Regions from separate parts of the Homo sapiens genome. Here all the other regions are linked to region 1. Evidence: promoter capture Hi-C in 16 types of primary human blood cells and fetal thymus (Javierre and others, 2016). All regions are on one chromosome and are shown on one strand. Each heading gives the region's core, a stretch centred on a gene start or on the middle of the fragment in contact. The rest is flanking DNA. Distances are from core to core; before and after follow the strand shown.

The links. The method cuts DNA at HindIII sites, captures the fragments that hold promoters and counts their contacts. A CHiCAGO score of 5 or more calls a contact.
Region 2: a contact is called between a fragment that was not itself captured here and the fragment with the promoter of IL18BP in region 1, in 8 of 17 cell types (naive B cells, erythroblasts, naive CD8 T cells and 5 more). The highest score is 10.0, in naive B cells.
Region 3: a contact is called between a fragment that was not itself captured here and the fragment with the promoter of IL18BP in region 1, in 1 of 17 cell types (monocytes). The highest score is 5.2, in monocytes.
Region 4: a contact is called between a fragment that was not itself captured here and the fragment with the promoter of IL18BP in region 1, in 1 of 17 cell types (monocytes). The highest score is 5.1, in monocytes.

What each region holds. Positions count from the first base shown.
Region 1 is chr11:71,997,170-72,002,719 of GRCh38, forward strand. IL18BP (interleukin 18 binding protein) reads left to right here and starts at 1,740. Exons shown (of 6, transcript NM_001039660.2): 1 at 1,740-1,850; 2 at 2,758-2,843; 3 at 3,182-3,388; 4 at 4,032-4,155; 5 at 4,236-4,383; 6 at 4,615-5,550. The coding sequence starts at 2,816. The coding sequence ends at 4,692. It overlaps RNF121 (ring finger protein 121), which reads left to right. Exons shown (of 9, transcript NM_018320.5): 9 at 1-428. The HindIII fragment of the contact is 5,155 bases long and covers 1-1,807 here.
Region 2 is chr11:72,415,801-72,423,440 of GRCh38, forward strand. All of the region lies in intron 2 of CLPB (ClpB family mitochondrial disaggregase), which reads right to left. Among named protein-coding and RNA genes, the nearest start is that of CLPB, 15 kb to the right of the region's middle. RefSeq lists enhancers at 2,229-2,916, 2,917-3,604, 3,605-4,291, 4,974-6,173. The HindIII fragment of the contact is 221 bases long and covers 3,726-3,946 here.
Region 3 is chr11:72,391,887-72,399,526 of GRCh38, forward strand. The region is part of intron 3 of CLPB (ClpB family mitochondrial disaggregase); the gene reads right to left. Among named protein-coding and RNA genes, the nearest start is that of CLPB, 39 kb to the right of the region's middle. RefSeq lists an enhancer at 338-387. The HindIII fragment of the contact is 4,933 bases long and covers 2,043-6,975 here.
Region 4 is chr11:72,268,377-72,276,016 of GRCh38, forward strand. No RefSeq gene overlaps it. Among named protein-coding and RNA genes, the nearest start is that of PHOX2A, 28 kb to the left of the region's middle. The HindIII fragment of the contact is 4,255 bases long and covers 2,479-6,733 here.

The DNA.
Region 1 (5,550 bases), core at 490-2,989:
CACTTCCTTCTTGAAAGCCTAAGAGTGCGTATGCGTGTGTGTGTGTGTGTGTGTGTGTACGTGAGGCAGAAGAATATGACAGATGTCAGCTTCTCCCTGTGTCAGATGATATGTCCTTGAAGCTGGCAGGGGATTCCCAGTCCAGGGAATATCCCTACATGATTTTTGTCATTCATGGGTCCTCCCTGGGCCTGACAACGGGAGTGGTGGGTGGGTGAGAACAGGTTCTGAGAGGGGGCTTCTAGGAAGGCCCCAGCCCTAGTCCTAGGCGACTTGAATAAAGTGGGAGGTCAAACATGGGCCTTCGGCATTGGGTTTCTAGGGAATATGGCTCAGTAGGGCCTGCCCCTTCAAGGGCAGCAAGAACGAAGCAGGATGTTGTCACTCCCGTCTGAATAAAGCTCCATGAGCTGGGTTGGAAAGCTGAACATTTATCTTGCTTTCTTCTTCCCACCTCTTTCCCTGGGGTCCCCAGGGGTGTCTTGCCTTTGTTAACCCCCATCGGAGACCTGAGGGTCTGGGGGTGGTTGGGCCTGCCTTTCTGCTGTTCCCAGCTGTTCCCCTGCTGACATCCCTAGGAGTGGTGGAATGCCAGGCTCCTGTCCTGTGGCCTGGGGGCCTGGGGCATCATTGGGCCTGCCTTCAGACTGAGGTTGCTCTATGTTCTCACTGCCTGAGGACAGTGTCCCGCCACCACCTGCCTTCCTGAGGACCACACTCAGGCTCGGCTTCTCTTCCCCAGCTGTGGCTTCCCATGGTACCCTGCTGCTTATGCCACCTGTGGGGCTGTTCCCCTCCTCAGAGAGGGGAATGGGGCTGGTCAGAGGACCTAGGGATCACCCTTCCTTTTACTTTTTCCCCCCACCCCCCTGTCAGGCTCAGGTGAGAAGCCGAGGCCAGGCTGTCCAAAGCTCTTTTCATGTGTAACAGTTCTGAGTCCCTTGACCTCCCCCCTTGGCCTGACTCTGGTCTCGGTTCCACTAAGACAGAGTCCTGTCATCTTTCCCTACCATCCCCCACTGGACTGTCTCTCTCAGAAACCCCAGGCAGCCTTGCCTCCTGACCTAACTCCTGGAGATGCTGGTGTTCTTGGGAGGAATTTCTCCTGCATCTTACATGCTAGAAGCCCCTGGGGCAGGAGGTAGGGGGAGGAATTGAGAGGAGGAAAAACATGAACTAGACACCTAGAGAAGAAGGATGTGACTTGTAGTATCCTATGTCTAAATTAGGAATATGAATCTGGTTTTTCTACAAGAAGTTTGAGATCACAGCTGACTGTGTTCCTGATGCATCCACCAAACCCAGTTCCATCTGTGGGCCTCCCTGGCTCTGTCACCAGCCGTTGCACCCTCCCAATCACAGGAGTCACAAACCTCAGACATGCAGCTCCTGTCCACACTTAATATATGCATGCATTGGATCACCCAGCCCTGGTCTTTCTGCCTCCATGGATAACTGCATGACCCTGAGAGAAAACCTCCTTAGATTTAGCATCCTAGGTTCCTCACACGCCTCACCCTGAATCCTGGCCCTCCCGCAGCCCCAGCGCCATTTGTCCCATCAGTGACAAGATTCATATTCTGATGTAGACTCTGTTGCCAGAGCCAGTGTTGAGCCAGTCCGCCTCTTCCCCGGGAAGTGCCTGCCCTTCCCTCCTGTTAGGGTTGGCTCTCGAGCTTGTGTGCCAGTTCCTGGGTTGGCCGTGAGAGTTCTACAGACAAGGAGGAAGTGCTCTCGGTGTATTTCCTGTGGTGGGTTCACACGCAGCTAGACACAGCTAACTTGAGTCTTGGAGCTCCTAGAGGGAAGCTTCTGGAAAGGAAGGCTCTTCAGGACCTCTTAGGAGCCAGGTAGGAGTCTGGGACTACTAGTGAACCTAGACCTGTGGCTCTGGCCAGAGGGGCTAGGATGAGAGACAGAGGGTGTGATGGTGGGTGCTGGGAGATGTAGCCGACCTTGGGGCTGGTGGCTGGGGGAGTGGGTAGCCTGGGAAAGGCCAGGATGTGGACGGACTGGTATGGCATTGAGCCTGAAGTGGTCCAACTTGGGGTTCCCCAGTGCCTAGGAAAGTTGTCCCCTTGAATGTCAGTGTGAAGGTGAAGGAGGAAGCAGATGCCTGTTCATATGGAAACAAAGACCTGGCTGTGAAGAGGGGAGGCGGACACCAAAGTCCTGACACTTGGGCGGGACAGAATTGATCTGTGAGAGACTCATCTAGTTCATACCCTAGGTGACCCTGGGGGTGGCATGGGGGTAGATTAGAGATCCCAGTCTGGTATCCTCTGGAGAGTAGGAGTCCCAGGAGCTGAAGGTTTCTGGCCACTGAACTTTGGCTAAAGCAGAGGTGTCACAGCTGCTCAAGATTCCCTGGTTAAAAAGTGAAAGTGAAATAGAGGGTCGGGGCAGTGCTTTCCCAGAAGGATTGCTCGGCATCCTGCCCTTCCCAGAAGCAGCTCTGGTGCTGAAGAGAGCACTGCCTCCCTGTGTGACTGGGTGAGTCCATATTCTCTCTTTGGGTCTCAATTTTGCCTTCCCTAATGAAGGGGTAAGATTGGACTAGGTAAGCATCTTACAACCATTTGTGGTCATGAGAGCTGGGGTGGGGAAGGATTGTCACTTGACCCCCCCAGCTCTGTTTCTAAGTGCTGAAAGAGCTCCAGGCTATGCTACGGGAGGAGAAGCCAGCTACTGAGGAAAAGCCAGCTACTGAGAAAAAGCGGGAGTGGTTTACCATTCTCCTCCCCCACCTTTCACCAGAGAAGAGGACGTTGTCACAGATAAAGAGCCAGGCTCACCAGCTCCTGACGCATGCATCATGACCATGAGACACAACTGGACACCAGGTAGGCCTTGGGGCTACGCATGGGCAGGCGGGGTAGGGTGAGGTCTATGAACAGAATGGAGCAATGGGCTAACCCGGAGCCTTCACTCCAAGGCAAACCACCCAGCGCACCTGGTGCTGTTGCTTTAAGAACCTGGGCAGATATTGTAGCTCTGGCTCCAGTCTAAAGCTTCTCTGTACTCTGTTCAATAAAGGGCTAAGGGGTGGGTGCTGAGGGGTCCCTCTTCCCGCTCTGATTCCCTGGCTAGAACCCAGACATCTCTGGGCTGGAGTTACATCCTTACCCGGGCAGCCCACTCTGTCTCCAGAGCCGCTGACCTGTAACTGTCCTTTCCTCAGACCTCAGCCCTTTGTGGGTCCTGCTCCTGTGTGCCCACGTCGTCACTCTCCTGGTCAGAGCCACACCTGTCTCGCAGACCACCACAGCTGCCACTGCCTCAGTTAGAAGCACAAAGGACCCCTGCCCCTCCCAGCCCCCAGTGTTCCCAGCAGCTAAGCAGTGTCCAGCATTGGAAGTGACCTGGCCAGAGGTGGAAGTGCCACTGAGTAAGAAGCACAGTGGTGGAGGGTGGGCTATGGGCACAGAGGTTCCCAGGGTCGGGTTGACTCCTGAGCGCCAGTCCCCTTCTGCCCATGTACCACCAGCTGAGCCAGCTGGGCTGAGCACGCACCATTCTCCCTCCCCAACCCAGTGTCATGGGTGCAGGCTTGGCGCAGCTCCCAAGATGCTCCCTATCAAATAGGACAGAGAACTCAAGACATAAGTAATGGTCACAGGACCTCCCAGAGCCTTGGTTGCAGTGGACCCCAAGGCCAGCCCCTCCACCCAGAGCCTGCTGGCCTCTGGCCATCTCAGAGGAGCAGCAGCCATCCAGCACTGCCTTTGTCACCTGGGCTCCCAAGTCACCGAGGCTGGGCACTAGAAAAGGTCATCCTGAGGAGACAGGTTCAGAAGAGGATTCATCACGTGAACCAAGGACCATTCCTCACATTCCCCGTGTTTAGGGCTAGGGCCTCTCGGAGACAACTGCACTTCTGTAACGGACGTTCCCACCTAGGTGGTGTGCAGAGCAGTTCTCTAGGTTCCAGATGCATGGGGACTGGGGGGAGCTGGCAGGGAGGGCACAGCAGAGCAGGGTAGGGGAAGGGCCTGCTCTTCTGAAGAGCTAACTGCTGCCTGTGTCCCTAGATGGAACGCTGAGCTTATCCTGTGTGGCCTGCAGCCGCTTCCCCAACTTCAGCATCCTCTACTGGCTGGGCAATGGTTCCTTCATTGAGCACCTCCCAGGCCGACTGTGGGAGGGGAGCACCAGGTGAGGGTCGCAGCAGCCAGGTGGGTGGGAAGGAGGCCTTCTGCGGCCTTCTCATGACCTTTCCTTCCCTTCCGCTCCAGCCGGGAACGTGGGAGCACAGGTACGCAGCTGTGCAAGGCCTTGGTGCTGGAGCAGCTGACCCCTGCCCTGCACAGCACCAACTTCTCCTGTGTGCTCGTGGACCCTGAACAGGTTGTCCAGCGTCACGTCGTCCTGGCCCAGCTCTGGGTGAGGAGCCCAAGGAGAGGCCTCCAGGAACAGGAGGAGCTCTGCTTCCATATGTGGGGAGGAAAGGGTGGGCTCTGCCAGAGCAGCCTGTGAACTAATGCCCAGCATTCCTCAAGGTCAGCCAGACAAAAAGGAACTTAGGTCTTGGGCAGAGGAGGTGTAGCCTGGGGCAAAGTGATGAGATGTCCCTCCTTTCCTTGGCCTGATCCTTGTCTGCCTTCACTTCCCTAGGCTGGGCTGAGGGCAACCTTGCCCCCCACCCAAGAAGCCCTGCCCTCCAGCCACAGCAGTCCACAGCAGCAGGGTTAAGACTCAGCACAGGGCCAGCAGCAGCACAACCTTGACCAGAGCTTGGGTCCTACCTGTCTACCTGGAGTGAACAGTCCCTGACTGCCTGTAGGCTGCGTGGATGCGCAACACACCCCCTCCTTCTCTGCTTTGGGTCCCTTCTCTCACCAAATTCAAACTCCATTCCCACCTACCTAGAAAATCACAGCCTCCTTATAATGCCTCCTCCTCCTGCCATTCTCTCTCCACCTATCCATTAGCCTTCCTAACGTCCTACTCCTCACACTGCTCTACTGCTCAGAAACCACCAAGACTGTTGATGCCTTAGCCTTGCACTCCAGGGCCCTACCTGCATTTCCCACATGACTTTCTGGAAGCCTCCCAACTATTCTTGCTTTTCCCAGACAGCTCCCACTCCCATGTCTCTGCTCATTTAGTCCCGTCTTCCTCACCGCCCCAGCAGGGGAACGCTCAAGCCTGGTTGAAATGCTGCCTCTTCAGTGAAGTCATCCTCTTTCAGCTCTGGCCGCATTCTGCAGACTTCCTATCTTCGTGCTGTATGTTTTTTTTTTCCCCCTTCACTCTAATGGACTGTTCCAGGGAAGGGATGGGGGCAGCAGCTGCTTCGGATCCACACTGTATCTGTGTCATCCCCACATGGGTCCTCATAAAGGATTATTCAATGGAGGCATCCTGACATCTGTTCATTTAGGCTTCAGTTCCACTCCCAGGAACTTTGCCTGTCCCACGAGGGAGTATGGGAGAGAGGGACTGCCACACAGAAGCTGAAGACAACACCTGCTTCAGGGGAACACAGGCGCTTGAAAAAGAAAAGAGAGAACAGCCCATAATGCTCCCCGGGAGCAGAGGCCACTAATG
Region 2 (7,640 bases), core at 2,586-5,085, 420 kb after region 1:
TAATAGAAGTATAAAATCTTTAACAAAGGGGATGGTTGCCCTGCTCCTCACAATAATGGTCATGCCACACTGGAATTCAGAGAGGGCACCAAAACTTTCTAGCTGTTTCATTTTAAAATGACTAGGATGAGGAGGAGACTTGAAACCACAGTTTAGGGAACCAAGGCTCATATAGCTTGGAGCTCTGTCTCCTAAGAGTTAAAAATCTGGAACAGGAAAAGGAAGCCATGTAGTCCTAGAAGACAGAGCTGGGACCAAGTGAGGGGAGTTGCAAAGGGAGCTAACACATAATGACAGCCCATCATGTGCCAAGTGCTATGCCAGGTGCTTTCACACTATTGCTTCAGAGCTCATCAGAAGATAAAACTGTTTTCTACTACTAATTACAAATTGTCTTTACTTACATTACTCCAACTGCCCAGAAAGTCTTTCTGCAAAGCTCCTTGTATACAAATACGACCTATCTCCAGACCCAAACTAAAGGCCACCTTGCCTGTGAAGCCCTAACTTTTCACCTGTACTAACTACAATTCTCTTACCAGACCGCAAGTTCCTTGAAAGACAAAGGTCATCATGATACATTTTTCTCCCCCTCAATGCCTAATAAGAAATTGCTCATAACAGGCCTTAAGAATGAATAAATGCCAAAGAATGGCTGGGTGCGGTGGCTCACACCTGTAATCTCAGCACTTTGGGAGGCTGAGGCAGGCAGATCACCTGAGGTCAGGAGTTCGAGACAAGCCTGGCCAACATAGTGAAACCCCGTCTCTACCAAAAATACAAAAATTAGCCAGGCATGGTGGCACGTGCCTGTAATCCCAGCTACTTGGGAGGCTGAGGCAGAAGAATCGCTTGAACCCGGGAGGCAGAGGTTGGATTGAGCCAAGATCGCGCCACTGCATTCCAGCCTGGATGACAGAGCAAGACTCCGTCTCAAAAAAAAAAAAAAAAAAAAGAAAAAAGAATGAATAAATGCCAAAGAAGATACAGAAATGGCCAATAAGCACATAAAAAGATGCTCACATCATTAGCCATTAGGGAAATGCAAATCAAAACCACAATGAGATACCACTCCACACACACTAGGTTTGCTGTAAGTGATGACAACACTGATGACAACAATTGTTGGTGAGGATGTGGAAAAGGTAGAACCCTCACACGTTGCTTTTGGGAATGTAAAATGGTGAAGCCACCCTGGAAAATGGTTGGGCAGTTCCTCAAAATGTTAAATGTACAGTTACTCTATGGCCCAGCAATTCCACTCCTAGGTATACACTGAAGAGACATGAAAACATACATTCACATAGAAATCTGTACACGAATGTTCACAGCAGCATTATTCATAATAGCTAAAAAGTGGAAACACAAATGTCCATCAACTGACAAATGACATCCTGTATGGATGTACATCCAATAAAATGTAGTACATCCATACAGGGAATATTATTCAGCCACAAAAAGGAATAAAGTACTGATATATGCTACAACATAGATGAACCTTGAAAACATTAAGCTCAGTGAAAGAAGCCAGACACAAAAGGCCACATATTGTATAATTCCATTTATATGAAATGTTCAGAACAGGCAAATCCAGAAACAGAAAGCAGATTAGTGGTTGCAACATCTAGGGGGAGAGGAGAATGGGGAGTAACTACTATTGGAACCAGAGTTTTCTGAGGGTCCGGGGTGGGGTGGGAGAGTGATAGAACATTCTGGAATTAGTGGTGCTGGTTGCACAATCTTATAAATGTTCTAAAATCCACTAAATTGTATATTTTTAAAGGTTGAATTTTATGGTATGTGAATTATACCTCAAAAGAAAAAAGAATGAATGTATATTCAGTCAGAATCTGCCTATTCTTCAGGAGGCAGAGAGTGCCTCATACCTAGAGGCACCCAAAGAGGGCTGGATGTTGACCATCAGAGAAGCTAAAGTGGGGACCTGAATACTGGAAAGGAAATGAGGCTGGAGACAAAAGTGCCTGAGATCCTGTGTGACCCATCTAGGGGTTGTGACTGAGCCCCTGATGTGTCCTGGGAAGGATCCTGCCCCTCCCCACCCCTGCTGGACTCTTGAGCCCTTGGGAATTCCGGGGGCCTCCCTCAATTGTTTGTGCTTTACATCCTGCCCCAGTACACTGTCCATCTGCAAAGGCTGGTCAAACACACAGGCTTCGCAGGAGGCCTGGGTGCTATCCCTTCAAACAAAAGGGCATTGAGATGGAAGCCTCAGCCCAGCCTCAAAGAGGATTCTTATGCAGCCTTCCTGAGCCTTCCATCCACATGAATGGAGGATCCTGGAGACCAGTCAGCCTGCCCAGCTGCTGCCTAGGGCTGTGCTCTCCTGCTGGTTAGCCTTTGGAGAATAAACAAGGTTTCTATCAACCAATCAATCAACGGGCCAGACTCCATCTGTACCATGTGTCTTCTGAGTGCCAGCCAGCCTTGTGTGACTTACTACGGTGAAGGCAGGAGAAGGAGGTGCCATACACCTTGCTGTGACAGGGCTCACAGCCTAGGTCAGGAGAAATACATAAGAAGCAACTGAAGAGAAAAGTGAAGAGATGAATCAGTAAACATGACACAGCAATGGTGTGAGGCAGGTCAATTATCATCCCTACTTTGCAGATGAAGAATCTAAGGTTAAAGATGTTAGACAACTTTTCCAAGGTCACAGAACTAACCAATGGTCACAGCCAGGATTCAAGCCTTGTTTTGTCAGACTCCAAAGTCCTCACCACTGCTTCCTGCTAATGATAAGAAATCCACTTGAAGGCCAGGTGCAGTGGCTCATGCCTGTAATCCCAGCACTTTGGGAGGCTGAGGCGGGAGGATCACGAGGTCAGGAGTTCAAGACCAGCCTGGCCAACATGGCGAAACCCTGTCTCTACTAAAAATACAAAAATTAGCCGGGTGTGGTGGCACACACCTGTAATCCCAGCTACTCTGGAGGCTGAGCCAGGAGAATCGCTTGAACCCAGGAGTCAGAGGTTGTAATGAGCTGAGATCGTACCACTGCACTCCACCCTGGTGACAGAGTGAGACTCCATCTCCAAAAAAAAAAAAAAAAAAGAAAAGAAAAGAAATCCACTTGTATTTGCATCCATTGACAGAATCACAAGGAGAGGACGACTGATTGCCTTAGAAGGACTTTGGGCCTAGGGCTCTTGCTCAGAAGGGAGGAACACAAAGGAGGCAGGACATAGTAGAGCCTCAAAGTTCAGAAACTGAAATTTTCTGAGGTTTTTTCAAAAAGGCAGACACAGAACAGGAAGTACAAGGCAAGCAGCTTAAGTGAATATTAGAAGCCCAGTAACACACTGGCTTGATTGTTTTCAATATTCTTAGATTCATCTCTGTTCCTCAGTTTCCAGGAAAATTCCTTGGGAGAAAAATTCCAGTTGGTTCTGGCGGTGCTGACATGAATTGCGTTATGATTTTGATTAAGCTGGGATTTTAGAGGAGAGATAGCACTTGGGCGACATAAATGATGGTAGGGAGGCAGAGCCTGACAACTGCCCCTGCTGTTAGGCCCTGAGCGATTACAGCTTTGTGGCCTACACTGCCTCAAGAGGCAGGACCATGCCCAAGATGATGCCTGGCACATACAAGCAGGAAGGCACTCACATTAGTTCCTCATGTTCCTCAGCCATCAGAATGGCTACTGATCATATTGATCCCCTCTCAACCCATCTCAGCTGCCACTGCCATAAAAATAAAGACAAAGCTTCTTCATGTGGCCTCTGATGCCCTGTAGGGTCTGCTTGTTCTAGGCTCCTGGCACCTTCCTCTAGCTGGAGTACCATTGGCCTTTTTCAGTCCTTCACACTGGCCTTGCTTCCTCCTCATGCAGGATTCTTGTAAATAAAAGTTCCTTGTGCTAGAGAGCTCTTCCCAACCTTTTCCACCTAGATAAACTCTTCCTTATCCTTCAATTCCAAGCTCAAGCTTCCTCTGACCAGGGGAAATCTGGCTGTCACAGGCTCTCCTGATTCTCTGTGTCCTTCCTTTGCAGCATTTGTACTAGTTGTCATTTCGCATTTGTAGGATTCACGTCTGACAAGGCTTTGAGCTCCATGAGGCAAATCCTGTACATGTCTGACTACTGATCTACCAAGCACAGTGCCACACATAGTAGGCACTATTTGTTTAATGAATAAACGATTGAACTACTTCATTTTTGTTTGTCCTCTGTCTACAGGTTTATTATGACTGTAATAGCTACACAGTTTGCTTAATTTTTATCATTTACAAAACACTTTTAGCCAGGCGTGGTGGCTCACACCTGTAATCCCAGCACTTTGGGAGACCAAGGCAGGACTGCTTGAGCCCAGGAGTTCAAGACCAGCCTGTGCAACATGATGAGATCTTGTCTCAATTAAATAAACAAACAAACAAAAACACAAAACGCTTTCAATGGCTGGGCATGGTGGCTCACGCCTGTAATCCCAGTACTTTAGGAGGCCGAGGTGGGCGGATCAAGAGGTCAGGAGTTCAAGACCAGCCAACATGGTGAAACTCCGTCTCTACTAAAAATACAAAAATTAGCTGGGCGCAGTAGCTGTCGCCTGTAATCCCAGCTACTCGGGAGGCTGAGGCAGGAGAATGGCTTGAACCCAGGAGGCAGAGGTTGCAGTGAGCCGAGATTGTGCCACTGCACTCCAGCCTGGGCAACAGAGCAAGACTCCATCTCAGGGGAAAAAAAAAAAAACTTTCAATAATATTCAGTGAGTATTTGGTAACTATTTACATGCACAGTGATGAACAACACAGCAATGGTCTGCTGCCCTCCAAAACTCACAGTGTTGTGAGGGAGAGAAGGAAACAGATAACCCATCCCAACAGAAGGTGGTAAGTGCTCTCACTTATATAGTACAGGGTGCTATGGGAATCCACAGATACTGGTGTTGTAGGAGTTATTAAGAAACTATTTCAGGCAGATAAGAGAGGGAGAGGTCCTTGGGAAATTTTCGTTTTTTAAAGCATCTCCAGAAGTTTCTGGTAAAGCCCCGTTCTTAGAGCCAGTCGGCAACCTTTGATATACAAATGAAGGCCATTAAAAAAACTGGGTCTACCCAGCAGAACGCAGTGGCTCACGCCTGTAATCCCAGCACTTTGGGAGGCCAAGGCGGGCGGATCACCAGAGGTCGGGAGTTCGGGACCAGCCTGGCCAACATGGAGAAACCCCATATGTACTAAAAATACAAAATTAGCCGGGTGTGGTGGCGCATGCCTGTAATCCCAGCTACTCAGGACATGGTGCCCTGCATTTGCATATTAAAATGCTAGGGTGGGAGGACCAGCTTTTTTGCAGGGTACATGAATGACATACCTAGTCAAACCAATCCCTTGAGTCCTATGCAAATCAGATACCACCTCCTCCAGCCTCTGTATATACCTGGCTGGTATCCATGGCAGGTGGGGTTCCCTCTCTTGGCTTTGGAGCCCCCTCCCTCTGTCTCTGTACAGGGGAGCTTCTTCCTTCTCCCTTCCTTCTTGCCCCTCCTTCCCTACTAAACTCTCTGCTCCTTAAAACCAATCCACGTGTTTCCGTGTCATCTTATCTAATTCGACATGAGACAGGAGCACTGGTGTCCCTCCACTCATCAGAGCCGTATCACTGGGGGATCAGGGAAGGCTTTCAGGAAGATGTGACAGTGATGACCGAAGGATGAGGAATTTTCCAGACAAGGACTCACCTGCCTGGAATGCTCACAAGATCCTGGGAGAGTGATGAGACAAGTATCATCAAAGATACTTTACAGTGGAGGCCCCCGAGGAAACTGAGAGACTAGCCCAAGGCCACACAGGGCTGGCTGTGCTCCTTTTCAGTGACATGACCCCTCCCTCCAGGCCCACTGCGTTAGGCCCTGGCTGTTCTCTGCTCATGGCCAACTGCCTGCCTCTGCAGGGCTTCTGGGCAGTTGACCACCTGCTCCCACAACTCACCTACCCATGAAGTTATAGAGAAGCTGCTAATCCAACCTTTCCCAATTGCCTTCCATCACCAGGGAACAAGCAATCAGAGCCTCAGCAAGCCACATACCCCAGAAAAGAAGCCAGGCACTACGCCACTCTGTAGAACTGCTTGAGAGGTACAAGGTCTACTTGAGCAAGCCTAGGGTTTCAGTGTGTGATCTGGACCCTTCCAGAAGGACTCAGCTTTCTCTGAACACTAGGAAACTGGCCGGGCGTGGTGGCTCACGCCTGTAATCCCAGCACTTTGGGAGGCCAAGGCGGGCGGATCACGAGGTCAGGAGATCGAGACCATCTTGGCTAACATGGTGAAACCCCACCTCTACTAAAAATACAAAAAATTGGCCGGGCGTGGTGGCGGGCGCCTGTAGTCCAGCAACTTGGGAGGCTGAGGCAGGAGAATGGCGTGAACCCGAGAGGCGGAGCTTGCAGTGAGTCGAGATTGTGCCACTGCACTCCAGCCTGGGTGACAGAGCAAGACTCCGTCTCAAAAAAAAAAAAAAAAAAAAAAAAAACTAGGGAACTGTATTTAAAAGGTCTCAGTGGGGACCCCATGAACAATACTTGGAAGCTAAGACTTAGGGTAGGTCAGTGACTTATTAATGGTCACATAGCTTGTTAGTAACTATGACAAAAGTAAAACGAGGTCTTTTAATTCTAAAACTCTTGTATTCTTTCTGTAACATTATGCTGCCTTTCCAACATTCTGGAAAGGCATTCAAAAAACCTGTGTACACCCTAGCATTCAAAAAACTGTGTGATGATCTTCAGAAGCTCTCACTATAAGTATCAAATTACAGGAGTGATGCCCTTGAGGCCTTGACCTTTGGTCTAGGATAAAGCTTGTGTTTCAATCCACTGCAAGCCACAAGGATATTTACATACTTCCTGATTAAGAGAGCTGGATGTTTTGGTTGCTCTGATGCCATCATTAATATCTTCCCATCCAGCCAAAATGATACAACAATCAATAAACAGACAGCCTCTCTGAGGCCCCGAGACAGCCAAATGTATTTACCAGCCAGGGTTTTGTTAATTAGATAAAATCCCTGGATCAATGTGCAGGACATTTACCTATGCTGTAACTAAGTACATTCTGGACACCTCAATCCTGGCACATGGACAGCAAGTGCCTCAAGCCCCAAGCTGGGGCATCCAGGGACGAGAACCAAACCAAGCCATCAGTGCAAAGCTAGAATAAATATGTTTACCCCTCAACAAAGCCCAACCCTTTCTTTTTTCCTGAACTGTAAACCAAATCAGATTTTTTTCCCCAAAGCCATCTAGTAAACCAGTTTGGGCTAGTATGAAGTTCTTTATTTTCTAAAGCCATAAAACCAGAAATCAAAACAGGACACCAAAAGAATCTCCTAAATGATAATTTAAGAGGCAACATGGCATGTATAGTGGGAAGTCAGAAAGACCCAGAGGTTCTAGTGCCTAAATGACATTTCCATTGGCATGTTAAATTCAGCATGTTTAAAACTGAACTCATAATCTTTTCCCCAAACCCAGTGTTCCTCAGGGATCCACATCTCGGTGAATGGCAAGAGCATCTACACAGATGATCAAGCCAGAAAACTGAAATTCATTAAGACCCTTTTCTCCCTAATCAACCATATCCATTTATATTCATTCATTTATTGAATACTTACTGTGTGGCA
Region 3 (7,640 bases), core at 3,259-5,758, 400 kb after region 1:
TCACACTGACCTTGATGAGCTCTTGCTTTCAGGGTGGTGGGGAGTCACAATAAATGGGAGGGCAGTTACTTCAATCAGTGTTTAGGCTTTCTGCTTTCAGTGGCCAGAGGGGGTTGGGGTGCTCACATTGTTTAGGGAAGAGCGAGAAAACCTATGGTGTGAGCTCAGGCTTGTGTTGGGCCAGGCGCGTGTCAAAGACGGCTGGCGAGCAGCTGGAGTTGGTGAAGCAAGAAGGGCAGTGATCCCAGCTCCAGGTCATCCCTACACAATGTTGAGCTTCAGAAGAAGCTCCTCTAACTCCTCCTCCTCCCCACCCCCCACATCTGAAGCATAGGATCACTGTGATGAGTGTCACGGGTCCCAAGGAGAAGACAAAGAGTGACCTCTTCTCAACCCAGTGCACACCTCGATGAGGGGAGGAAGTGAAAAGGTCACAGTTCAGGAGGTCTGCTGGAAAGTCAAATGAGTTGTGGCTCATTCAGTAACCTGGTCTCTGGCTGGTCAGGAAAGCCGGGTGGCCCAACCAAAGGCACTAGCATTTGTTAAATCTACAAGTCCTGTGGCATGGGGACATGAGCTGAGAGTAGAGAGGGCACAGAGAACAGTTTTCTTTTTAAAGCCAGATTCCTAAGGAAATGAATTAAAGATTGGGTAGGAAATAAGGTACCTGTATAGAAAATGTGCCCCAGTTTCCTCAAATGAGGATAATGTTTATTTATTTACTTCAAAAAGTAAAGATCAATAATCATAATAAAGCAGCCGCAGTGTGTTAGACACTTTATATTCACTATTTCAGATCCTTATAACAACTTGCAATGAGGTACCAGTCCTATTTTATAAATAAGTAAACTAAGGCTCGGCAAGATAATATGAGTTACCCAAATGTACACATTAAATAAGCACAAGAACCAAGATTCAAAACCAGGTCTGTCTGAGTCTAAATTTGGTGTACATTCCCCTAAACCACGTTGGCTCTCACCCAACTGACCATCCATTAGTCTGTCTTCTTATCCCATAGTTACTAAGCTCTTACTGCATAGTACCAGGAACAGTGATATTTTCAGATGGCAGTTAAAGCAAAGCAGGTCATAGCAGCTAGCTGGGATAAGAAGGAGTCTGTTTGAGATAGACAAGGGTAAAAATCAGTGGTGAACCCAGACAGAGGTGATATAATTAGGGGCAAGGCTCGAGGAAGGCATGGCACGTTAAGCTGATGGCCAAGGAATCAAGATCACCCACAACAGGGTTTCCAAGATAATCCCAATTTCACATCCTCAGCGTAGTTCTAAATACACTTCCATGTCTTTCAATTTGTGGTTCATAATATATGGTCACCAAACCTAAGGCCAGTGTAGTCAGGCCCTAGATGTTAGGACTTATTACAGTATGGACCCAGACTAGGCTCTCTCTAGGCAAATGATCCAGAACAGTATGATGGGGCTGGCATATCTCTTAGACTCGGGTGAAAATAACAACAAAAAGAAAAAACAATATTAATAACAGCAGCAGATACCTACTTATTCACTACACTAAGTAGTTTTATGTGCATTTTAATCTTTGCAACCACCTTATGCTGAGGTAGGTGCCATTATTATTCCCATTTTGCAGATGGGTAAACTAAAAACCATAAGAGGCACAGCAAGGTCTTCAACACAGGCAGCTTCACTCCAGAGCCCCTATTCTTCACTACCATAGTATACATAAGTAGACTGGATGCTCCCCAAAGCAGGGACTGTGCCTTGACTATTTCCATCTCCACACACATAGGGCCTATACAGGGCAGTAAATATTTGCTGAATCAATTCACTTCTGGGGCCTGATGTTGCACAGCAGACAACATATTGGGTTTTTAGTCAGCTTCTAGACTTTACTTTTAGTATTGCTAAGTTTTGCACGTTGGGTTTTACAGTTGGTTTTTAATTGTTGACCCATATACTTATCCTTGTTAGTTTTTATCAACACAGATTTAACCATTGCTCTAGCCCACTGAGGTTTTATTTAATGTCCCCTATTTTTTCACCCAATATATTAGTACCTCCTCAAGCTTCATTAACTCTGTTGGCATTTATCAATGACCTCAATGAAATCAGTGATATAAAATACTGAACAGGACAGAGCCCCATTGCTCACCACTCAAGCCTGCTCTCTAGTCTGATGTCCATTCATACATAAACAATGAACCAGGTCATTTACATTTACTAGTCTGACTATACTATTTTTACATCATAATTTTACTCATATAGATGTCATTAGAGACATCCAAATATCTTACTAAAAGCCTGAAACACCCATGATATCTACTGCCGACCCCTGGCCCACCAGCCTGGCAGCTCTGTTAAAATAAGCAGCTTATGGTACAGCTGTTTTTAAAGAAGTCTCTTAAAGAAGAGGTATAGAACTAGACCATCTCACAGTTCCTAGAGATGGAACACCCTGCCCCAAGCAGCTGAACTGAATGAACACTGGATGCTTTCCTATCCCCAACTGCCACTCTCCATAATGAACACTGGATGCTCTCCTATCCCCAACTGCCACTCTCCATAATGAACACTGGATGCTCTCCTATCCCCAACTGCCACTCTCCATGAAGACAGCACTGAACACAGAACCCCAGGACAGAACAGAGCATTGGGCCCAGGAAGTATACCCTGAGACTGTCACGTTAGGCAAATGAGCTGGCACTGATTTCCAGGGAGCAGCGTCTTGAGTTGCCTGAGGTTGAGGCATGTGTCTGCCAAACTACGAGTGCATGCTGGAATTGGAATATCATTACCACAAAACAGGATTATCTTGAGCAACGATTCCAAATGGGATTAGAAATGACTCTTTCTTACTCAGAGATAATCGGCCATAGCAGTAGGGGTGGGAGAAACGTCAAGCCCAACACTTTCCTGGGGGCACGGTGCTGCGGTGCTGGCATTCTGGGCACTTGGCCAGCACCCTCACCCATCCTTCCTTGCTGGGGAATACTGGGTACTGTCCTGCACTGGGCAGGTGGCCACCTGTAACAAAAGCCAGCCTATATCAAGGTACCCTGCTCAGGGGTCCCATGTTCTTGGGTTCCCTGCCGGTTGCTTCTACGAGCACATCTCTGCTTTCCACCTTTGTGAGCCTATGCTCACAATGGTCCTTCTGCAAATGCTCTCCCCCTACTCCCTATGTTACCAATCAAATCCTGCCCAACTCCTCTGAAAGGGCCTCTTTTCATGATGCTGGCTCTACACAGCATCATCTCCTCCACAGCACTCTATGTGTTCTTCTCTGTGGCACTGAACACATTCTGCCTCATTCTCCAAAGCGGGACTTTTATCCCTTTTCTGAGTGTCAGCTTTCTGAGAACAAGGAGAGTGGCTTGTCTGTTTTTACAGTTCTCAAAATCCATATAATACATCATGGGTCATCAAGAAACCCTGATAGAGCCGACTTGACTCCTGGTTCCAGCATCCTTCGGTCCATCCCATGGCCTTGCTCCCGGCCCCTTCCCTCCATAGGCAGTGTAGTCCAGTGGAAAGAGCAAGGGTTTGGGGTTCAGAAAGACCCAGCTTCAAATCCTGGCTCCTTCTTTTACTAGCTGGACAACCTTGGACAACTCTGAGCTTCATTTTCCCTATCTGTAAAATAGGAATAATAATCCCTTCCTTTCAAGATTGCCCTGAGGATTAGACCCAACATGGGAAGTGCTTGACATGGGCCTGGCACACAGAAAGCACCCAATCAACTACTGCCATCATCATTACTACAGTCAGGAGATCACACAGCACAAAGCCCAGCCTCCTTGGGCAGAAGGTAGCCCTACTCTACAGCACGAAGCCAGACCAAGAATAGGTTAGAAGACGGAAAAGGCTCTGTGCCCCTAAGGCAGGACCGACTTCCATGTGGTTGGTCAGGTTCCCTAAGGACCTACTTTCAAGCACAGGTACACTGGTACTCTACCTGCTCCACGTATAGCTAGCCAGGAAGGAAGCAGAGCCTCCCAGGGAGGCTGCCAGTAGTCTAGCTGCAAGATTAGCATCTGCTCTTCGCTCTAAGAACACCCATGGAGCTGTTGGGGTCCACAAAGGAAGGCCTTTAAAACCTCTTCTGTAGGACAGCAATCTGGCTTAGGCTATCGGTTTTTTAAAGAAAGGGTTTAATGCACCCTCTCCCCTTAGTAAGGCAGAGGGAAAATAAGCAAATGCTAAAAATAAATGACTGCTGTGAGAGGGAATTGAATGGTCTTCAGCCAAGGATGGCAGCACTTTAAAATTAACAAAGCCCGGGTACCACATCCAGGAAGGCCTTGGCAAATGCGTGTTATCCACTCATTAGCTCAGTTCCTCGGGGACCCTGGCCAAGCAGGGAAGGCAGTGCCGGGAACCAGTCCTTCCGACACTGATGAAATGCACTCGGGGAGAAAAGGCAGAAGGAGGGAGGGAGACTCTTGTGGGGAATTTCAAACAGTTCTGATGTGCTTCATGCTCTGCCTTGCAGTTCTCACCTTCTCCGAGGCAAAGGCTTGCAAAAGCCACCACCAAGCCCAAGCAGGATGAAATCAAAATCTCCCCACACCAGCCTCCCTTTTCAGGATCTTTGGTTCCTGAAGCACCACAACGGCCTCACTATATAGGTGGTGTCCCTGCATGAGAGTCCAGAGATAAGGAACCCAAGAATAGTGTGGGAGAGGCAAGCTCCCAGTCTGTAACCTCAACTTTCTCCTTGCTGGAATGAAGAATCATATACTTTATGAATTTATACAAGTCCACTGTACACTACTCATAAAGTGAATTTATCACTATTCATCAGTAATTATACTTCATTACATCACTGATAGTATGAATTGACAAATCTTCATTCCCTACTAAAAATCAGAATGCATATCACTCTAATGTGAGATATCATCAACAATAAGAATTCAAAACATTCCAGGTGACCATTAACAATATGAATTAATTTTGATACTACTAATACAAATTCTCAGTATGCCACTGGTCACAATTAATAATGAAAATTAGAGAGGGATGACAGCTTTTTAAAAAGTGTTTAAAGTCAGTTTACTGAAGTATCACATTTACACAGAGTAAAATTCATCCTTTTTAAGATATATAATTTAATGAATTTTGATAATTATATACATTCATGTAACCAGCATGATAATCAGGATACAGAATATTTCTCCATCATCCCAAAAAGTTCCTTTATATTCTCTTCCCATTCCCAAACACTGGCAACCACCAATCTGATTTCTGCCCCTAAAGTTCTGTCTTCTCCAGAATGTCATATACATGGAATTACAGAGCAGGTAGCTTTTTGTGTTGGTTTTAGCTTAGCATGGTGCTTTTGTTGTTGTCATTGTTTGTTTGGCTGTTTTTACCGTATGGATATACCACAATTTGTTGGTCCATTCACCAGTTGATGGACATTGCATTATATCCAGTTTTTGGTGGTCATGAATAAAGCTGCTATAAATATTTACATACAGGTATTTTTGCAGACGTACATTTTTATTTCTCTTAGACAAATACCTAGGAGTTGCTATTGCTCTGTGGTATGGTAAATGTATACTTTACCTTTATAAGAAACTGCCAAAGTGTTTTCCAATGTGGCTATACCATTATGCATTCCTATCAGTGATGTATCAATATTGTTCTGTATCCTTGTCAGCCCTTAGTATTGTCAGTTTTCCTAAATTTTAGCTACTGTAGCAGGTATGTAGTGGTATCTCATTGTGACTTGAATTTGCACTGAGTATGTTTTCATGTGCTTATTTGCCACCCATCTCTTTTTCGATGAAGCATCTGCTAAAATATTTTGCCCATTTAAAAAAATTAGATTTTTTTTATTATTGATTTGTAAGACTTCTTTATATGTTCTGGGTACTACTGCTTTATAAGATACATGTTTTTACAGCTCCTTTTTTATGAATTAGAAATTATAAGAATCTAAGTCTTACAATTTTTCTTCTAAACCACTATCCTCTGCACATATACTCTAATTAAGGGACTAGGAACAACTTAAACTTCTAATTTACAAACATCTTAGTGCTGCTGGAACAGAGGGCCAAGAAGTACTTAAACCGTGCTAAAACTCATGAGACTATTTTTATCTCCATTGCAAGCACCTAACAATACCAGAGCTTTAAGGAAAGCTACATCTGGAGAAATGACTGTCCTATGAACAGCTTTTGGCCCCCCAGGCTCTGCACCTCCCAAAGCCCTGTTCTGGTCCACCAGACTTCTGGAATGGTCAACAGTCGTCACACTCCATTGCTGGCCATTGTTCACTGGGAAAGGTAGGAGGCTCCCAATCCATCCCTCAGTGGAAGAGCAAATAGTGGGGCCTGTGGCTGCTTGGACATCAAAGTTGAGCAAACAGGCCTGGCAGGCCCTGCCTCTCCGCCTACACATCCTGCAAATGCCATCTGAAGGAGCTTCCCCAAGGGGGTCATGACTTTCAGCCTGTCATAGAACACATCAAAGTTTGCACCACACACGAACTGGGTGCATGGGTTCGAATCAAGTCGCCCGAGAGCGGATACTCAGCCATTGTGTCCAGTTTTAATCCTGTGTTTTCCCAAGTAATTAAGCCTTCTTGCTTATGAACTTGTGACTAAGTAAAGCATCACCGAGAGGTTGTAACATCAAAGTGCCTTCCACCGTCTGTCCGTGTTTGGTAAAATTGGATTTCTTTTCCTTCTTAAAGAAAAACTAATTGAATTTAGCTGAAGGCTGTGTATATTTGCACAAGCCGGTGAAGGCTACGCTAAGTCACAGTGATCATTCTGGGACCCTGTGGCTTAGCCTTTAGCTGGACTGGGTCAGAGTGCAATATAGAATGAGACACCCAGACTCAGGCTAAACAAGTGCCTTGTGGCATGAGGCTTATAGAGGGCTAACTGTGGAGAAGGGGCCAGACCCCAATGACTGTTCCTTGAGTCAATACTATACCCAAGCTGTTACTAGGGCTGGCAAAAGGATTGTCCTAGTAGAATGTTGGTAAAGCTTTGGCAGCACGGCTACTGAAGACAATGGCCATCACATTACTCAAGTCCTGGATGTCGGCAGTCCAAGTAAGCTTCTTAAGGCAAAAGCTGTGACTGCTTATTCTCTGAATCCCTGATAGCCTAGCACATTAGCACCTGACACCACAGAGTTTTTAAATATGTTTGCTGAATATACATAATGATAATATATATTTTATATATATAAAACCATAAATATATATAATACATAAAGATATAACTCTCTGTATCCCTTTTTTGCCCTATCAGGAAACTTCAATCTAAATTAATACTCAATTTCCCTAATTACTTAATTTACAGTAAATACAGCATGGTCCCATTCATGTTAAATTTGTACATAAACATATATATAACAATCAATTTCCAGATAAAGGGAATTCAGGTGACTACTATTTTATGTATGATTTTTACAAAAACAATAAATCTATTTTCAGAAAAGAGAATCTCTGGTTCAATCTTTATACAATTATCTTTCCTTTAACCAATATGATTTCTGATCTTGATCCAGTTTTCCCTCTCCTGTGTATATTTATATTTGTATTTTAAGTCACTTCAAACTCTTTTTGGAAATAAAAGGAGAAAATAAATTATAAATTAAATTATTGTGCATATTTTTAAAGTGTAGTTCTATAGCACTGTTATT
Region 4 (7,640 bases), core at 3,356-5,855, 270 kb after region 1:
AAACACCAAGGAGCAGAACTGAAGGATCATACAGTAAAAAGTATGTTTAGTTTTGTAAACAACCACTAACTGTCTTCCAAAGCTGCTGCATTATTTTACTTTATTATATTATATTTATAATATAATAATACTTATATAAGTATTATATATAATATATAATAATATAATATAAATATAATATTTATATTTCAATATTATAATATAAATATAATATTTATATTTAAATATTATCATATAAATATAAATATAATATATTATAATTATTATAATATAAATATAATATATTATAATTATTATAATATAAATATAATATATTATAATTATTATAATATAAATATAATATATATTATAAATATTATAATATAAATATATTATAAATATTATAATATAAATATATTATAAATATTATAATATAAATATATTATAAATATTATAATATAAATATATTATAAATATTATAATATAAATATATTATAAATATTATAATATAAATATATTATAAATATTATAATATAAATATATTATAAATATTATAATATAAATATATTATAAATATTATAATATAAATATATTATAAATATTATAATATAAATATATTATAAATATTATAATATAAATATAATATATTATAAATATAATATAAATATAATATATTATAAATATAATATAAATATAATATTTAATATTTATAATATAAATATAATATTTATATTATAATATTATAATACTTTAGCTCTGCTCCTGCCTGCACTTTGCTCCACTGGACTCTGCTCTTTTTCCCCTAGCAGGTAAGTTTCCTCCACTATTCTGACCCTTGGAGTAGACAACTTGGTTATGGACAGCTCCAGACCTGTACATCCTAGTTAGGCACTCTAAACAGAGATTTGTGGTGTATTCTCTGTTCTAGTTTTAAAATTTCTGGAGGAGAGGGAAGTCTGATTTGCTCTGGTGGGTCAGGTTGTCACATCAGAACCAGTGAAATGTATCTAGATGTATCCAGGGAGCAGTGTCATAGCTACTAACATGACAGAAGCTCTGATAGGTCTTTGGGTGGTGGGAATGGGTTGGGAGAGAGTGTTGCAATAAGAAGGGGAGTGTTAAGCACACTGTCACTTAGGAGTGCACACTGCGGTTACAGAATCTTCTAATTCTTTGGTGGAAGCTTCCTGGAAGGGGAAGTTTCAGTGGTGCTATCATTCAAAGAAAATTCAAGGCTGGGCGCGGTGGCTCACGCCTGTAATCCCAGCACTTTGGGAGGCCAAGGTGGGCGGATTACCTGAGGTCAGGAGTTCAAGACCAGCCTGACTCACTTCGTGGTGAAACCCCATCTCTACTAAAAATACAAACATTAGCCAAGCATGGTGGCACACACCTGTAATCCCAGCTACTCGGGAGGGTGAGACAGGAGAATTGCTTGAGCCTGGGAGACAGAGGTTGCAGTGAGCCGAGATAGTGCCACTGCACTCCTGCCTGGCTGACAGAGAGAGACTGTCTCAAAAAAAAAAGAAAAAAGAAAAAAGAAAATTCAAGCCCTTTGTGAAGGTTTTATAATGACCCTGACAAGGGTTCCTTGGGTCACGGAGAAGAGACCCTACCCAAATGAAGATGCCTTTACAAGTTTGGAGCGCTCACCCCTCTCTCTAGGCTTCCAAAGCTAAGTGATCCTTCCAAGCAAAATTGGAAAGCAGTCGGCTTGCAGGCAGGTGGTGGTGGCTTAGAGCTTCCTTTTAACCATTTATGGAGTAGGTCTTCATTTCTTGATGTAAATCCAAGCATCCCTCTGGTATCACATTCCATCTTCCTGAAGAACTTCTTTAACATTTCTTGTAATGCAGGTCTGATGAATTCTGTCACCTTCAGTTTGTCTGAAAAAGTATTTCACTTTCATTTTTGAAATATTTTCATTGGGTATGGTATTCTGATGAGTTTTTTCTTTTTAGCACTTAAAGTACGACCTTCTATTCTCTTCTAGCTTGCATAATTTCTGGTGAGAAGTGTGCTTTGTTCTTCTCAATGTAATATGTCTTTTCTCGTTTTCAAGACATTCTCTTAATCTTTGAGTTTTGGAAGTTTGAGTCTGATGTGTCTAGACATGTGTGGTGGTTTTAAAATATGCATGCATATTTTTAATGTATACTGCTATCTCTATATCCTTTAAAAGGTGAAGCTTAAAGGCTGGGCACGGTGGCTCACGCCTGTAATCCCAGCACTTTGGGAGGCTGAGGTGGGTGGAACACCTAGGTCAGGAGTTTGAAACCAGCCTGACTAACATGGAGAAACCTCATCTCTACTAAAAATACGAAATTAGCTGGACATGGAGGTGCATGCCTGTAATCCCAGCTACTTGGGAGGCTGAGGCAGGAGAATCGCTTGAACCCAGGAGACGGAGATTGCAGTGAGCCAAGATCACGCCACTGCACTCCAGCCTGGGCACAAGAGCAAAACTCCGTCTAGAAAAAAACAAAAACAAAAAAGTGAAGCTTAATTCTCCTTCCCTTGCATTTTTGGGACTTCTATTGTAATGAATGCAATATGGTGGGAATGGTGGTGTTCTGCTTCTGACGCTTAGGGCATGTAAGACATTGTGGCTTCTGCCTGCCTCTCCCTTAGATTGCTCTGGGGTACAAATTGTCATGTTGTAAGGACTTTAAGCTGATATGTTTTAGTCATCAGGAAATTATACTTATTTTATATAATTAATTGCCTAAGAAATGCTAAATGGATGAAGCGATACTGCAATGGGAAGAAACAAAGATAAAAACCCAAATCATGAGATTATGCCGTGGAGTCTTACTGATTTGTTCTTCCTGCAAACACTCGGTAAGCATCTATTGTGTGTATGAGTATGTCCAGGTAAGCTACAGAAATCAGGTAGAGGAAGGAAGACCCTAAAACAGTTTTCAACTTTAACCTGTTAAAATATGAGCCATAACTTTTTGGATACAGCTCTATTCCCCTCCCCCCCATTTTAAAAAGAAACTCTATTAGAATGTGGTTCATTTAACTTTTAAAAGTTAATCGACAATTTTTTTAGAGCAGCTTTAGGTTCACAGCAAAACGGAGTGGAAAGTATACAGCATTCCCATACCCCCCTCTCCTGCCCTAGTACCAACCCCCCCCAACAAAGCCTTCATTATCGATATTAGCATCAGATTGGAATATTTGGTACAATCAATGCACCAATATTGACACATACATCATAATTGACCAAAGTCCATAGTTAAAGTTCACTGTATTTACATTCTGTAGATTTTGACAAATGTATAATAACGTATGCCCACACTTGTAATATCATACAGAATAATTTCACTGCCCTAAAAATCCCCTGTGCTCCACCTATTGATCTCTCTCCACTTAAGTCCCTAGAAATCACTTCTGTTTTTACTGTCTCTATAGTTCTGTCTTTTCCATGATGCCATATAGTTGGAATCATACAGTATATAGGCTTTTCAGAATGACTTCTTTCACTTAGTGATAAGAATGTAAAGTTTCTCTATGTGTTTTTATGGCTTAATAGCTCATTTCTTTTTAGCATTAAATAATATTCCACTGTCTGGATGTACCAGAGTTTCTTTATCCACTTACCTATTGAAGGACATTTTAATTTCTTTCAAATTTTGACAATTATGAATAAAGCTGCTACAAACATTCATGTGTAGGTTTTTGGGTGTACGTAAGTTGTCAACATAGTTGAGTAAACACAAAGGAGCTCAGTTGTAGGATCATATGGTAAAAGTATGTTTGGTTTTGTAAACAACTGCTGTCTTCCAAAGTGACTGTATCCTTTTGCATTCCCTCCAGCAATGAATGAGAGTTCCTATTGCTCCACCTCCTTGCCAGTATTTGGTATGGTCAGAGTTTTGAATTTTAGCCATTCTAAAGTATAGTGGTATCTCATTGTTTTAATTTGCAATTCCCTAATGACATAGGATGTGGAGGATCTTTTCATATGCTTATTTGTCATCTGTATATCTTCTTTGGTGATGTGTCTTTTCAGATAGTTTGCCCGTTGTTTAATCTGGTTTTCTTATTGTTCAGTTGTAAGCATATATTTTGAATATTCCTGTATCACATATGTCTTTTGTAAATATTTTCTCCCAGTCTGTGACTTCTTTTCTCATTCTCTTGACATTTAACTTTGATATATTAAAACATTTTTTTGAAAGCATGTATTTCCTTATTTTTAAAACTGAGGCATAATTTTTGAGATATAAAACTTTGAGATATAATTCACATCATAAAATTCACTCTTTAGGCGGGGCACAGTGGCTCATGTCTGTAATCCCAGCACTTTGGGAGGCCGAGGCGGGTGGATCACTTGAAGTCAGGAGTTCCAGACCAGCCTGGCCAACATGGTGAAACCCTGTCTCTACTAAAAATACAAAAATTAGTAAGCTGTGGTGGCGCCTGCCTGTAATCCCAGCTACTCGGGAGGTTGAGGCAGGAGAATTGCTTGAACCCAGAAGGCAGAGGTTACAGTGAGCCAAGATCGCACCACTGCACTCCAGCCTGGGCAACACAGCGAGACTCTGTCTCAAAAAAATAAAAATAAAAAAGGCCAGGCGCTGTGGCTCACACCTATAATCCCAGCACTTTGGGAGGCCCAGGCGGGCGGATCACGAGGTCAGGAGATCCAGATCATCCTGGCTAACACGGTGAAACCCCGTCTCTACTAAAAATACAAAAAATTAGCCGGGCGTGGTGGTGGGTGCCTGTAGTCCCAGCTACTCGGGAGGCGGAGGCAGAAGAATGGCGTGAACCCGGCAGGCAGAGCTTGCAGTGAGCTGAGATCACGCCACTGCACTCCAGACTGGGTGACAGAGCAAGACTCTGTTTCAAGAAGAAAAAAAAAAAAATTCACCCTTTGAAGTGTACAATACAAGGATTGCACAAAGTTGTGCAACCACCACCACTATGTAATTCTAGAACATTTCATCACTCCAAAAAGAAACCCCCAAGTTCATTATCAGTCATTTCGATTCCCCTTTCCCATTACCTGGCAACCACTAATCTACTTTCGGTCTCTGTGAATTTGCCTATCTGGACATTTTCATATAAATAGAATCATCTACTATGTGGTATTTTGTAACTGGATTCTTTCATTTTGCATATTTCAAGGTTCATGTTGTAGTGTAAATCAATACTTCATTCTTTTCATGTCTGAATAATATTCTGTGTATATGTATAGATACACCATATTTTATCCATCCATTCATCAGTTTGATGAACATTTGGGTTGTTTCCACTTTTTAATTATTATGAAAAATGTTGCTATGTACATTGTGTGTAAGTTTTTGTGTGGCTGTATGTTTTCCTGTCTCTTAGGTATAAGCTAGGAGTAGAATTGCTGGGTTAGATGGAAACTCTATGTTTAACTTTTTGAGTGACTGTTAGGCTCTTTTCCAAAGTGGCTGCCTCACTTTACATTCCTACCAGTAGTGTATGAGAGTTCAATTTCTCCAAATCCTCACCAACACTTGTTATTGCCTATCTTTTTTATTATAGTCATTTTGGCGGGTATGTATAGTGGATTTGATTTGCATTTCCCTGATAGCTAATGACACCGAACATCTTTCATGTGCTTTTTAACCTTTTATGTATCTTCTTTGGATAAATGTCTATTTAGATCCTTTGCCTGTTTTAAAATTGGGTTAATTTGCTTTTTATGGTTGTGTTTTAAGAGTTCTTTATATACTCTGTATACTAGACTCTTATCAAATCTGAGTTTCAAAGATTTTCTCCCATTCTATAGGTTGTCTTTTCACTTTCTTTTTCTTTTTTTTTGAGATGGAGTTTCGCTCTTGCCCAGGCTGGAGTGCAATGGCACAATCTTGGCTCACTGCAATCTCTGTCTCCTGGGTACAAGCGATTCTCCTGTCTCAGCCTCCCAAGTAGCTGGGATTACAGGCACACGCCACCACTCCCAGCTATTTTTTTTTTTTTTTTTGTATTTAGTAGAGACAGGGTTTCACCATGTTGGCCAGGCTGGTCTCAAACTCCTGGCCTAAGGTGATCTGCCCACCTCAGCCTCCCAAAGTGCTGGGATTACAGGCGTGAGCCAGCACGCCCAGCCAAAACTTTTCAATTTGGATGAAGTTGCATTTATTTTTTCTTGTTGTTTGGTTTTAGTGTCATATCTAAGAAACCATTGCCTAATCCTAAAAAAAAACTGTGGTAAAACATACAAAATATAAAACGTCACAATTTTGACCATTTTAAAGTTTATAATTCAAAGGCATTTAGTATACTGACAATGTTATGCAACTATCACCACTATCGGGTTCCAGAACGTTTCATCACCCGAAAGAAAATCCTACACCAGTTAAGCAATTACTCCATTCCTCCCTTTCCCTATCCTGGCAACCACTCATCTACTTTTTGTCGCTCTATATATGCATATTCTGGACATTTCATATATAGGAAATAATACAATATGTGGCCTTTTATGTCTGGCTTATTTTACTTAGTATAATGTTTTCAAGGTTCATCCATGTCGTAGCATGTATCAGTACTTCATCCTTTCTATGGCTGAATAATATTAATGATATGGATACACCACATTTTGTTTATCCATTCATCAGTTGATGCATATTAGGGTTGTTTCTATCTTTGGGCTATTGTGAATAGCAAAAGAAAAAAGAAAAAACATGCAGAACTTTTTGTTTGAACATCTGCATGTCTCTTAGGTATAACCTAGGAGTAGAATTGTTGGGTCATATAGAAACTCTGTTTAAGCTTTTCAGTGACCGGTAGACTCTTTTCCAAAGTGGCGGCATCATTTTACATTCCTACCAGCAATAAATGAGGGTTCACATTTTTCCACATCCTTGCCAACAGTTATTTCATTACTTTGTTTTTGTTTTACCTTATAGTCATCCTAGTGGGTGAGAGTAGTATCGCGTCATTTTGATTTGTATTTCTCTAATGACTAATGATATTGATGATACTGAGTATCTTTTCATGTACTCATTGGCCTTTTGTACATCTTTTTTTGAAGAGATTACAACTATATCTTCTTCTAAGAGTTTTATCATTGTTTTAACTCTTGTGCTTAGGTCTTTGATCCCGTGTAAGTTAATTTTTGTGTATGGTGTGGGGTAGGGGTCCAGTTTATTTTTTTGTATGTGGATATTCAGTTGTCCCAACATCATTTACTATTCTTTCCACATTATGTTTCATAATTTTTTCATTGAATGTTGGACATCACGTGTAGAACAGAAGAGACTGTAATAAATAGTATTTATGCCTAGAAATGAGCATGCCTCTCCTTTTCATAGGCTGTTTGTGTGGGTAATTGAGGTAATTTAGTCCAGATTTGATCTGGGTTTAGGTTTTATTGTTACTATGGTTACCTTCAGTGTACTATCAGATTTTTTTTTTTTTCTCTGTTGCCCAGACTCTGGAGTGCAGTGGCGTGATCTCGGCTCACTGCAAGCTCCACCTCCTGGGTTCACACCATTCTCCTGCCTCAGCCTCCCGAGTAGCTGGGACTATAGGCACCCGCCACCACGCCTGGCTAATTTTTTGTATTTTTAGTAGACACGGGGTTTCACCATGTTAGCCAGGATGGTCTCGATATCCTGACCTCGTGATGAACCCGCCTCGGCCTCCCAAAGTGCTGGGATTACAGGCGTGAGCCA